Regions from separate parts of the Homo sapiens genome. Here region 2 is linked to region 1. The links are contacts of gene promoters, found by promoter capture Hi-C in human tissues and cell types (Jung and others, 2019). All regions are on one chromosome and are shown on one strand. Each heading gives the region's core, a stretch centred on a gene start or on the middle of the fragment in contact. The rest is flanking DNA. Distances are from core to core; before and after follow the strand shown. Region 1 holds the start of GALNT18 (polypeptide N-acetylgalactosaminyltransferase 18). Region 2 holds the start of SNORD97 (small nucleolar RNA, C/D box 97).

Region 1 (6,547 bases), core at 609-3,108:
TCTTCTTGACCCTCATTTTTTTAAACTTGGGATTTAATTTTTTTCCATTAAGAATGTGAAAAGAATGAGTATTGCCTTCTCTTTCTAGTCCTGTGGTGGTTTAGGAAGATCCCAAGAAGGGCTGAACTTCCAGGGCTCCTCCTGGGAGAGGGGGCAGAACAGAAGGAAAGATTACACCTTAGCCTGTACTCAAGGGCATTGCTTGTAAGTCTGTCCAACCAGAAGAAAGTTCAGATCCTTTATTTGTGAGCTGGATTATACCTCTGGAAGAGAAAAAAGGGAGAGACAAGTTTTACTCCCTCCTGGAGGCAGATTTCTCTACCTTGATTTTTTCAGAAATTGTGTACATTCTCTCCTCTCATGTATGTATCTCCTACATACCATACACACGATTCTTCTCCCCCTTCTATACCCCAGCCCACGCCAACCCACACCCACTGTTCTCTCTTCCAGCTATGGATCAAGGGAAATCTTCCCGGGTCCCTAGTTGGTATCTGTTTTCATAGCATCTTTGGGGAGGTTTTGTAAACAAAGCATTGGTAGAAGGGCCCTTGGCTGATGGGGCCATAAAGTGCCCTTTCTTTGGTTTTGTGCTCTCCCTCTCTTGTGGGGCCAGTCATTTGAATCCAGAAGATATCCCAGGATGGAGCTGCCCTGAGTATTTCTGTGGCTGGTTGGAAGGCTGGCACACAACAAAGTGGGCATGCAGCAGGCTGCCTCCCTGGCTTAGGCCAAAAAAATAAAGCAACTCAGAGATGGAGAAGAGGCAGGAAATCTATGTTGTAAAAAGTCTTTGTTTAAAGGAATTCCGTTCAGGTGCTGAGAACGGGGTGTTCAGCAGAAGAGGATAATATGAGTAAACATTGGCAGTAAGAACAAACACAGCAGTATCACTGTCTGCGTCTGGCCTCCTCCTGTGCTCAGTCACAGGTCTCTCCCACCGCCCTCTATGATAGCAATCATAAACAACATGTAGAAGGGCTTTACAGTTCACAGACCTCAGTTCCCCTCAGCGGCACTTCCTTGCAGGGTTTCTTTATGCACTGGATGACCCTGGTTCCACATAAATGAAAACTGGGCTTAAAGGACACATCCATGTCCTGGGAGCTGTACAGACTTAAAGAAAAACCTAGATAGGGGCAAAAATTGGGGCAGGCGGTGGGGGTGGGGGGTGGGGGGTGGGGGGGGGGAAGAAGTGGTCGAGAGAGTCATCTAATAGGTCACCAATGTTGCTTCTGGGAGGTTGCCGGAGGGTTGGCTCCTTTCAGCCAGGTTTAGGGCCAGGTCTGGACACACTCAGGAGGCCGGTGGCTGAAGGGCAGAGGGCAGGGTGGAGGCCCAAGTGAGGCCAAGGAAGGAGTGGATGCCGCTGGGGCTGGCACTTCCTTGGCTTCTCAGCGTCCTGGCAACCAAGAAAAGATTCCAGGAGTCGACTGGTGGCACCAATGCGAGAAGCCCCGGGCGGATGAAAGAAGCTGACCCGTGCGAACCCCCCACCCCCTCCACAAAACCAGGAGATTCCTGCCCAAGAGCAAGAGATGGAATTCCCCTAACGGAGGAAGCTGCCGACCTAAGGGCTGGGACTGGCAGCGCGCCCTCTCCGGGAGCTTCAGGTCTGGGGCAGCCTGTGCAGGCGCGGGTGGAGGCCCGGGCGCGTCCCTGGGGGCGGGAGCCAGGGGCGGCCAGCAGGTGGGGCCTGGGAGCTGGACTCCGCCCCCCGCTCCCTCCCCGTTGGTCCGCTGCCGCTCAGCACCGGCCCCTCTCCCGAGCCGGAGCGCGATTGGTGGCAGCGCTTGTCGCTCGGAGGGGGCCGGGCCGCTCTGCTTCGCGGCTCTCCCCGCCGCCGCTGCCGCTGCCGCTGTTCTCCTAGCAGCGCGGGCCGGTCGGACCGCCAAGGCAGCCGGCGCTGGCGATGGGAAGCGGCGTGGCCGCCGACACAGGCAGTGGCAAAGTTTCCCAGACGTACACATCTGGACGCGCGGCTGCCGGCTACCCGTGACCCCTCTAGGAAGGGTTCAGGGATTTTTAATTTGGAAAAAAATCCACCTGGTTTCCTTTGTCAAGGTCTCTCCGGGTGGCCAGCGGCAGGAGCTGCAAACTTGGGCACGGCGGCTACACCGGCAGCGGACCGGGCTTTGGAGAACCTCGGGACTCAGGTGCTGAGGTGCCCAGCGGCTCCGGACGTGCTACGGGGTGCGAGCGCGGGGGAGTTCGGGGCGCACGACAAGGAAGGGCCCCCGGGAGCTCTATATGGAGGAAGGAGCCCAGAATGGTGTGCACCAGGAAGACCAAAACTTTGGTGTCCACTTGCGTGATCCTGAGCGGCATGACTAACATCATCTGCCTGCTCTACGTGGGCTGGGTCACCAACTACATCGCCAGCGTGTATGTGCGGGGGCAGGAGCCGGCGCCCGACAAGAAGCTGGAGGAAGACAAAGGGGACACTCTGAAGATTATTGAGCGGCTGGACCACCTGGAGAATGTCATCAAGCAGCACATTCAAGGTACGGGCGCCCCGGAAACTTGGGTCGCCCATGAGGCCCGGGAGTGCCCCGCGCGGCGCGGGGTGCGCTGGGGCTGGTGCGCATCAACTCAGCCACGGCGGGGCTCTGGGGCCGCAGATGCGTGGTAGTCGTGGGGCCTGCGTGTGAGCTCCTGCCTGCGTTCGGGACCTTCTGTCTGCGGCCGTGCGCTCTTCCCCGGGGCACACGTGTGTGCGCAGGGCTGCACGAGCGGATGTGTGCAGCTAGCTGGCGGTATGGGGGCGCGCTGCGCACGTGTCCAAATGTGCGTGTGACTCTGGGCTGGTTGCTCGCGGGCTCTCGGGATCGCACACAAGTCCGGCTCAGAGTGTGTGTGCATGTGAATGTCTGTGTGTGTACAAGAGGGAACGCGCGGGCAAACGAGCTTTTTTGGCCACTGTAGGCGTCAGGCGAGATGCCCGCGCGGCGGCCCTGACTATTGGCAGTTAAGACCCGCAGGCTGCCGGACAAGCGAGGCTAGGAAAATTGCGTTGTATCAGCCCCAGCCCCAGTCTTGCTGTGATCCCGTTGGTAGGCGATAGGGAATGCAAGGAGCCCTCTGTGGTTGAAAAGCCGCTTGAACCTATAGCAGTCCCTACCCCCACCACAGCCCGCGGGTCCAGGACCCTCTCCAGGAGCAGGTGTCAACGCCGGGAAGTAGCGCTGGAGTCTCTGTCCACTGTGGTGATGACTCCGCCCAAGACTGGAAGAACACGCCCTGGGCTGCGCCTTCCCCGCGGAGCCGCCCGGGACCGGGTGAAGGCCGATCCCTACTGTAGCTCCACTCTCAGGCCCTGGGAGCAGCCGGGGCTGAGCAGACCTGGGTTGGGTCTGAAGTGTAAGGTTACGCTGGTTGGGTGCGCTCCAGACCAGCGCGGGGGTCCAAAGGGAGGGTGGGGGTTGCAGGGCGCTCTCCCGAGGCGACCTGGTCAATGAGCTGTCATGGGAGGGAATGGAGTTCCGGGCGCCAGGAGCACTGGTGCCGGGTGTGCACACACACACACACACGCGCGCGCGCGCGCGCTCACGTCCACACTTCCTCCCCTCCCCGCGCCCCCTGCTTTCTTCCAGGTGTGTGAGCTTCTTAAGGGCAGGGCCGAGCTTGGTTCCCCTGTAAACCTAGCAGGCCCACCAGGCTCAGGGGCCAGTGCATGGCAGACCTTGGCAAAATCGAATTGAACTGAAGGCTTACCCCCCACCCCCCCGCCAGGAGCACTCCCTTTTGTTTACACGTGGATGTCTGAATTCCAATCCTTGCACCTGCTGCTCTTGCCAGAGTAGAGATGGCTCCTCCGTCTGAATTTGGTGTTTCCCCAGGTGTCCAGAATAGTTCCTTTCCAGGAGGGGAAGGTTCAGGGAGGTTCAGGTGAGTGCAGGAGAGGCATCCACATCCATAGTGCTTCCTGACTAATGACTTCAAAACAAGCCCATGGCTTCGGCACCTTCCCAGAAAAGAGGGACATTGACAGCTTCTTCTTCAGACCTGCCTCTGCCTCTCAACCTGGCACTGGGCTTGAAAACCAATTTACCTATCTGTGGGTGCCAGTTGCTGTTATTTCTTACGTGTCCTTTTCCATCCCATAGGTCTTGATTGACTATTAATCAGCAATAGAAGTACAGTGTTTCCCCCAGGGTGATTCAGAATGTTCCCCAGGAGACACAAAGCCATGCCTTACTTTGACATTTCTAGTTTGCCGACAGATTTTGAGATTTTCATTCACAGATTCTGTGTGTGTGTGTGTTCCTGGAAAATGATTCTCTTGTGCTTTTCTTTCTGGTCAGGCAGGAGGTGAGCAAGGTACTGCTTTGGGGATGCTTTCAGGGGATGCCATTAACCCCTGAGCCTGTAACGGAGTGGGTGCCAGTCATGTGGAATGTGGACCATGTCACATGATTTCTAAGGTTCCACATGGAAAAGCATGATGTTGAAGTTGAAAGGAAGCATTGTGATTTTTCTCCCCGGAAACTTTATAACTATGTGTTGTTCAGCACTTTCAAATCTATACCTGAAAAATTGGAGAAGATAGGTTAAAAAAATAGGAGACAGGGTCCCTAAAACACGTGTTGTTCCACTTGTACACGTGCAATGACCCCTGTGGGTATTCAGAAATAACCACAATCTCGACAGAGGGCCAAAGCTGCCACCTATAGGAAGGTAGGGAAGGGTCAGTGACTTGGAAAGACTGGAAATGAGGCAGGCAGGGGCAGAGGTTACCAGGTTGGCTGTGCCATGATGGTGTAGCAATGACCAACAGTTCCCTTTGCCATGCTGGGGCCATCCTGAGCTGGGATTTAGGAAACAGAGGTAAAGGGCCTATAAAATTTGGGGCTGGTCAAGTGCAGCTCTCTGAAGGCAGAGGGTGGTAAAGGACAATAAGATCAAGCTCTTGTGCTTGATGGTACAAGCTGTTTATGTGTAACCCACTGTCAAGTTCCCTCTAGTCAGCATAGCCCTTTGAACAATCCAGTTTACTTTGCTGAACTGGAGGGAATAAGCGGTAATAATAATAAGAGCTAAAATAACATAGCACCTAGGATATGTCAGGCCCTATTCTAAACACTTTACATATATTGACTTATTTAATCTTCACAACCTTATGAAGTAGGTAATATTTGCTCCATTTTACAGATATGGAAACTGAGGCAGGGAGAGGGTATATGATTTGTCCAGGGTCACACACTGGTATATGATAGTATAGGGATGTAAGCTCAGCTAGTGTGGCTTCAGAAGTCTAAGTTCTTACCCACGTACTAAACTGTCTCCCAGGAGGGCCCCAGGGTCCCTTGGAGTCTGTTGACAGTGGTGGAAGTGGGTGTCAGAGGATGGCTGAGGGGTGAGGGAGTCAGCAGCCTTCCCACTTGGAAACTCCATAGATAAACTCAGGTTTTGCTTTGTTTCATGCCAAGAGGCAGAGGTTCCAGTCCTTTAACTAATGTTTACTGAACATGCAGGACAGTCCCTGGCACATTCTGCAGAAAGTAGCTGTGGGGTGGAAGCGTGGATGAATGGATGAGTGCTGATGCCTATGGCCACGTTGGTTATTAATGAAAGTGTTACCACTCTCCAAAAAAGGTGTTTTGCTTTGGAGTCTTGTCCAGGCTCCTCTTTTTGTTAGAAGGAAAGTCTCCTTGAAGCTGCAAATGTCACAAAATGTTCTGCAGGATGTTCCATAGGACTTGCAATTAGAAGAGGCTTTGGAGCATCACCCCAGAGGTCTGTTCTAGTCATGACTGAAAAGTTTATTTTCGTCTTGGGAGTTGCAGTGATATTTCATTTTAATTTGTTTTCTGATTGAATGATTTAATTAGATGGTGTTTGGGAATCTCTTGGGAATGTAAATTGCAGTTTTGGGAAGTTTTTTGACCAAATAGACGTTAAATGAGAGGGTGGATAACTTATGAGTTTTTAAAAAAAGCATCCTGGGGGTTTAGAAACACAAAGTAAATGTTAGTAAGGGTCAGGTTCTCTCCATCTTAGGAGTAGAAAGATCTGATGGCTTGACACGGTGAGGCGGATGAAGCAAGAATCTGCTAAAGGAGTTCTCAGTGTTGGAGAGTGCAGGAAATGGAAATGTTGATTCAGTTCTTATTTTGGAAATTCAGTAAAAATAAAGATAGCTTTCTTCTTTTCTTAGTAGCTTTCTGAATATGGAAAAGAATGTGCCAATGTTTAAGAAAATATTTAAAAATGCATAAAATTGCCCATAATTCATTCTACCCTAAAAATCAGTTTGCATTTTGAGCATTTCCTTCTGGATTTGTTCATTTGCCTCCATATTTCAAAATGAAGGTGTAGTCATGATTTACATGTAATTTTATATTCTGCTTTGTTCACTTTCTTTTTGTTAACGAAGCACTATTTTTTCCATATTTGCTACATAGTTTATTGGTTTAACATTTATCTGTTGGAGACCTAATGTGTGCCAGACACTGCACTGAGAAAGTGATTACAGTGGTGAACTGTATACTAGAGACACTCTACAGGAGTATGGGCACTCTTGGTCCTTGTCATAGCGGACTTGTTT
Region 2 (6,500 bases), core at 2,435-4,934, 820 kb after region 1:
AGAACGACATGATGCAATCTTCAGGAAAGTAAGAGGGTAAGTTTCAAGGTCTGTTTTACTAAAAGATGGGAAGTGTGGATTAGCTGTGTTTGGTGTGTGTGCTGTATTACTAAGAAGGCAAGGTTCATGCCCAGAGTATGTATGTTTTAATGAATCCTCATGGTAGCAATTTTTAAAAATATCTTGAACTGGCCAGGCACTGTGGCTCACGCCTGTAATCCCAGCACTTTGGGAGGCCGAGGTGGGCAGATCACTTGAGGTCAGGAGTTTGAGACCAGCCTGGCCAACATGTTGAAACCCCATCTCTACTAAAAATACAAAAATTAGCCGGACGTAGTGGCAGGCGCCTGTAGTCCCAGCTACTAGAGAGGCTGAGGCAGGAGAATCACTTGAATACCCCACAGGTGGAGGTTGCAGTGAGCCGAGATCACGCCACTGCACTCCAGCCTGGGTGCAGAGCAAGACTGTGTCTCAAAAAAAAAAAATGTATCTTGAACTGAAGAACAGCACGTCATATTTTGGGGCTTCCCGTTGCTTTCAGCCATTGGATTGCAATCCATAATCCTGTCATGCTAGCATTTCCCTTGACTAAGGGAAGTGCTATGTTATTTAAGCCAGTGAGGCAGGGAATATAATGGTCTTAGTTCATGGTCTAGCCTTGATAATGAGATCTTTGCGCTCTAACCTTGAGAAAGTGAGAAAGGATTCTTGTCAAACAGCTGGGGACCCCCCAGTCCAATTCAAATCATTGTAATTAAAATAACAGGTTTATTTCAGCATCCCTTTGGTTTTAGATGAGTAAGAAAACATGTCTTGATTTTTTAAAGGGAGCAAGTTAGAAGAAAAATCAGTATAATTTAAAAGCAGTTTTTCAATTCAAATTCTGTGTATTAGCTAACACTTAAAATGTAATTCCTTTTTCTCCAGCATACTAAATAAGCTTACTCCTGAAAAGTTTGACAAGCTATGCCTTGAGCTCCTCAATGTGGGTGTAGAGTCTAAACTCATCCTTAAAGGGGTCATACTGCTGGTAAGTTTTAAATATTGGCTTAACTCAAAAGGGAGAGGGAACTGTTTAACAAACTCAAGTTGTGTTTTTTTACACTTGGATTACTACTTAAAACCCTTAGGTGTGAGTTAGATAGGTATGTATTTTTGAATACTGATGGTGATTAAAAAGAACCACTGACTTTAGTAGCATTAGATTGAAGAGGTAAATGTTAAGTTCATGGTATGGTTGAAGAGGTAAATGGGAGTGCTTAGCAAGCTGTTCTTTTTCTTTTGTGGAAAACACCGTATTTAGGTCTTGGAAATGCATTGTATGACAGTTTATGTAGACTTGAAAGTTTTGATATCCATGGCATTTTCTGACTCCCAGGAGATGGATGTGACTAGATGAAATCTGTATAACTGGACATTTTTGGTAGACTGTAATAGCTAACATTTAGGTGGTTGTATTTTTCCTAAAGGAAGGGTTCTTGGAGAAGTTTTCATATTTAGTTTAAGCAATGACATTTTCTGTAGATTGTGGACAAAGCCCTAGAAGAGCCAAAGTATAGCTCACTGTATGCTCAGCTATGTCTGCGATTGGCAGAAGATGCACCAAACTTTGATGGCCCAGCAGCAGAGGGTCAACCAGGACAGAAGCAAAGCACCGTAAGTGGTAGTTTTTGTTTGCTTGTTTTAAAGTTGACTTGAAAAATTTCCTTAATAAAGCATGACAATGTCTTCTTTTCCAGACATTCAGACGCCTCCTAATTTCCAAATTACAAGATGAATTTGAAAACCGAACTAGAAATGTTGATGGTAAGACTTATAGCTGATAATAAGTACTACTGTATATTTTCAGCTTAATTCTGAATGTTGGCTTACTTCATTGGTATCTTTTTCAGTCTATGATAAGCGTGAAAATCCCCTCCTCCCCGAGGAGGAGGAACAGAGAGCCATTGCTAAGATCAAGATGTTGGGAAACATCAAATTCATTGGAGAGCTTGGCAAGCTTGATCTTATTCACGAATCTATCCTTCATAAGTGCATCAAAACAGTAAGTGTGACAGGGAAGTTAGGCGAATGTAGTCAGTCGTTTGGAGGAAATGAGTCAATTATTCATCTAAGAGGGAGGTTGACTAGTTAAATACAGATGTGCAACAAAATTTACTAAACAGAATAATTTGAAATACGTGGTGTGTTTGACAAAGTAGAGTTAGAACTGATCAACCAGACTGGTAGAAAGCCCTATACTAGATTCTGTAGGAACTGTGAATGAGTCAGTGCAAACATAAAGGGAAAGAAAGTACTACGCCTAAACCAGAGTAACTAAAACTTTGTCACCATGGCCTTTTATTCTTGTAGCTTTTGGAAAAGAAGAAGAGAGTCCAACTCAAAGATATGGGAGAGGATTTGGAGTGCCTCTGTCAGATAATGAGGACAGTGGGACCTAGATTAGACCATGAACGAGCCAAGGTACGTGTGTAGCTGATGAAAGTAGTACAAGTAGTTTGTCTTTAAATCAAGCTATTGATTTTTGTGACATCATAAGGGATTGCCATATTTAGCCATTAACTGGGTTATAATTTTAGAAGTCTTAAAGCTGTAAATTGAACACATTTGCTTTAGCTCTTCCAATGAATGTATTCTTCTCTTATCAGTCCTTAATGGATCAGTACTTTGCCCGAATGTGCTCCTTGATGTTAAGTAAGGAATTGCCAGCAAGGATTCGTTTCCTGCTGCAGGTAATACTGGTTTCTTTAAATTTGTTGGTAAGCTGAGTTTTTGGTTTAGGAATATTAAAATAAAATTATTTTTCAATTAAAGGATACCGTAGAGTTGCGAGAACACCATTGGGTTCCTCGCAAGGCTTTTCTTGACAATGGACCAAAGACGATCAATCAAATTCGTCAAGATGCAGTAAAAGTAAGATTGGGTTTTGTTTTGTTTGTCACATAGACTCTGTGTGTGTAGAATAGAATGGGTTTCCTCCTCACCCACCCCAAACGCTTGAGGGGTCTGTCTCATCTTAGTGGTGGAGCTTAATGTTTTTAGTGTCTCGTCTTCCACTTTTATTTTTTTATTTTTTGAGACGGAGTTTCGCACTGTCACCCAGGCTGGAGTGCAGTGGCGCATTCTCGATTCACTGCAGCCTCTGCCTCCCAGGTTCAAGTGATTCTCCTGCTTCAGCCTCCCCAGTAGCTGGGACTATAGGCGTGCGCCACCACACCCCGCTAATTTTTTGTATTTTTAGTAGAGACAGGGTTCCACCATGTTGGCCAGGCTTGTCTTGAACTCCTGACCTCATGCAAACCAAGGCTTGGGCCTCCCAAAGTCGGGGGATTACAGATGTGAGCCATCATGCCCAGCCTTGTCTGCCATTTTTGGAAGAAGTTATTTACAGAAATAACATAAATTATGGTTTAATATTCTAGGTTTCCCCCCCTAGTTGCAAGAATTTTAGTTTTAAGTGAAATAGTGTCCAGAGACAAAAAGTGCATATTCACTTCATTTCTAAAGGATCTAGGGGTGTTTATTCCTGCTCCTATGGCTCAAGGGATGAGAAGTGACTTCTTTCTGGAGGGACCGTTCATGCCACCCAGGATGAAAATGGATAGGGACCCACTTGGAGGACTTGCTGATATGTTTGGACAAATGCCAGGTAATTTTGAAAAAACAATGGTTGCGTTAAGCTGAAAAATCAGTTAACTTTAGTTTTGAGAGTTGTCCGTATATGTATTTTAAGGTAGCGGAATTGGTACTGGTCCAGGAGTTATCCAGGATAGATTTTCACCCACCATGGGACGTCATCGTTCAAATCAACTCTTCAATGGCCATGGGGGACACATCATGCCTCCCACACAATCGCAGTTTGGAGAGATGGGAGGCAAGTTTATGAAAAGCCAGGTAAGTAATATTTGAGTGTGCATGTTTTCTAAACCTTATCTGCAACATTTATTTCAAACTGAAATGTTTATCCTTAAGATTAGTAAAGTATTAGTAAAATCACATCACTTTATTTGATAGGTTAGATTTTTATTCTTCCCTGTTTCATCTTTTACTTTCTCTGGGCAAATTCAGTTAAACTAACTTTATGGCTTGGCTCATCCCTTTGGTACTTGATTACCATAATTTGTGGACCCCTTTTTATCTAGACTTTCTTTCTCCTTTTCTGAAATAGGGGCTAAGCCAGCTCTACCATAACCAGAGTCAGGGACTCTTATCCCAGCTGCAAGGACAGTCGAAGGATATGCCACCTCGGTTTTCTAAGAAAGGACAGCTTAATGCAGATGAGGTACATTTGCCTATGTTACTTATATACCATAGTTTGTCCATTCAGAAATTTATTGCCCGATGATTATAAAAAGACGCGTTATTAAGAGGACTTTATGCTGGAGTTCTTGACGTTTTTCTCTCTTTTCTATACTTCTTTTTCTTTCTTTGAATGTCCAGCGTCCTGTGAGCGAAGATTATGAGATATGAGGGCAAGTCTCCTAAAGTCTGTTAGAGCAAGAAAACTGGTTGTCAAAATATTGTGGTTTCTTTCTTTGTAAGGGTGATTTAACTAAGGATAAAACAGGGCATTTTCTAAACTGTAGTTAAATTTGCAGTTTTTTATTTGAATATTTTAGTCATGCTAATTCTAAGAGAATGTAAGATTTATAATAGTATCTTACTACTGTATGCATCAGATCTTTAAATTTTTTGCCAAAAATTAAACCTGTTAATGTGGAGTACCTTCTTTAGTTTTTCAAAAAGCTTAATGTTTCCCTAGATTCTGTCACTGTATAGGATTTTAGAATGTTGTATTTAATATGTTCGCCAACTGCATGTTGTTAATTTAGATATATTTTGTTTTCAATTCCAGATTAGCCTGAGGCCTGCTCAGTCGTTCCTAATGAATAAAAATCAAGTGCCAAAGCTTCAGCCCCAGATAACTATGATTCCTCCTAGTGCACAACCACCACGCACTCAAACACCACCTCTGGGACAGGTACAGACCATAGTAGGACAGCATTTTCTAAAGATATCTGAAGACTTTTTTCTAAATTTAGTGTGTTCTTCCCCCTAATTTCATAGTCCTCTTTTTAAAAAAAGTCTGTCATTGCTTGTTTTTTAGACACCTCAGCTTGGTCTCAAAACTAATCCACCGCTTATCCAGGAAAAGCCTGCCAAGACCAGCAAAAAGCCACCACCGTCAAAGGAAGAACTCCTTAAACTAACTGTAAGTTTCAAATATCCCATTTTAGTGTAATTAGCCTGTATTTGAGATAGAGAATACATTAAAGATACTTGTGTTCTTCACAGGAAACTGTTGTGACTGAATATCTAAATAGTGGAAATGCAAATGAGGCTGTCAATGGTGTAAGAGAAATGAGGGCTCCTAAACACTTTCTTCCTGAGATGTTAAGCAAAGTAATCATCCTGTCACTAGATAGAAGCGATGAAGATAAAGAAAAAGCAAGTTCTTTGATCAGTTTACTCAAACAGGAAGGGATAGCCACAAGTGACAACTTCATGCAGGTAGGACACTTTACTGATTGTGTGGTAAGAACTCTTACCACTCAAATTCGAAAACTGATAAACTGTTGTATATTTCTTTCAAGGCTTTCCTGAATGTATTGGACCAGTGTCCCAAACTGGAGGTTGACATCCCTTTGGTGAAATCCTATTTAGCACAGTTTGCAGCTCGTGCCATCATTTCAGAGCTGGTGAGCATTTCAGAACTAGCTCAACCACTAGAAAGTGGCACCCATTTTCCTCTCTTCCTACTTTGTCTTCAGCAGTTAGCTAAATTACAAGATCGAGAATGGTTAACAGAACTTTTTCAACAAAGCAAGGTCAATATGCAGAAAATGCTCCCAGGTAAGAGAATGCTGACTTGTTTGTTTTGTTTTTTTAATATTATATCTAGAGATTTCAGGTACCTTGAGTGGATTTATGTAGGTCAGACAGTCTGATTGTCCTGCTCAGATAATGATAAACATTACCACAGATCTCACCTATAAAGAGAGATTTATAATTTAACTACTTTCATTTGATCCGTATGTTGAGTTTTTTTCATTTGCTGGGTTGGTTCTCTATTCTGCTACATGGATCTTACATACTTGGGGACATCATTTGTGAAGCTCTGCTCTCTGGACAGGACAACTTGGTAAAATGAACTATTAGATGATGCAGGTGGCTTTGTCTCTTCAGAAATTGATCAGAATAAGGACCGCATGTTGGAGATTTTGGAAGGAAAGGGACTGAGTTTCTTATTCCCACTCCTCAAATTGGAGAAGGAACTGTTGAAGCAAATAAAGTTGGATCCATCCCCTCAAACCATATATAAATGGATTAAAGATAACATCTCTCCCAAACTTCATGTAGATAAAGGATTTGTGAACATCTTAATGACTAGGTAAGACGAATGGTTTTCTGCATATGGTAATGTTTCATGTACTGGAAAAGAAGCGTAGGAGACTAAGAGTTGTCTCTTGAGCAAGAAAACTCACTGTTGGGTTCTAACA

What was found. The method cuts DNA at HindIII sites, captures the fragments that hold promoters and counts their contacts. A contact is called where the count stands out against the background at its distance.
Region 2: a fragment that was not itself captured here is called in contact with the fragment with the promoter of GALNT18 in region 1 in 1 of the 25 tissues and cell types used here (aorta).

Annotation. Positions count from the first base shown.
Region 1 is chr11:11,617,316-11,623,862 of GRCh38, reverse strand. It overlaps GALNT18 (polypeptide N-acetylgalactosaminyltransferase 18), which reads left to right and starts at 1,858. Exons shown (of 11, transcript NM_198516.3): 1 at 1,858-2,504. The coding sequence starts at 2,270. RefSeq lists silencers at 1,556-1,915, 2,666-2,745, 2,766-2,835 and enhancers at 1,418-1,918, 2,036-2,115, 2,326-2,375, 3,116-3,345, 3,008-3,977 and 1 more. The HindIII fragment of the contact is 13,654 bases long and covers 1-6,547 here.
Region 2 is chr11:10,799,443-10,805,942 of GRCh38, reverse strand. It overlaps EIF4G2 (eukaryotic translation initiation factor 4 gamma 2), which reads left to right. Exons shown (of 22, transcript NM_001418.4): 4 at 1-36; 5 at 928-1,030; 6 at 1,525-1,656; 7 at 1,740-1,806; 8 at 1,893-2,044; 9 at 2,353-2,463; 10 at 2,649-2,732; 11 at 2,815-2,913; 12 at 3,508-3,649; 13 at 3,734-3,894; 14 at 4,169-4,282; 15 at 4,856-4,981; 16 at 5,108-5,212; 17 at 5,296-5,511; 2 more. SNORD97 (small nucleolar RNA, C/D box 97) reads left to right here and starts at 4,335; the gene lies at 4,335-4,476. The HindIII fragment of the contact is 4,428 bases long and covers 1,471-5,898 here.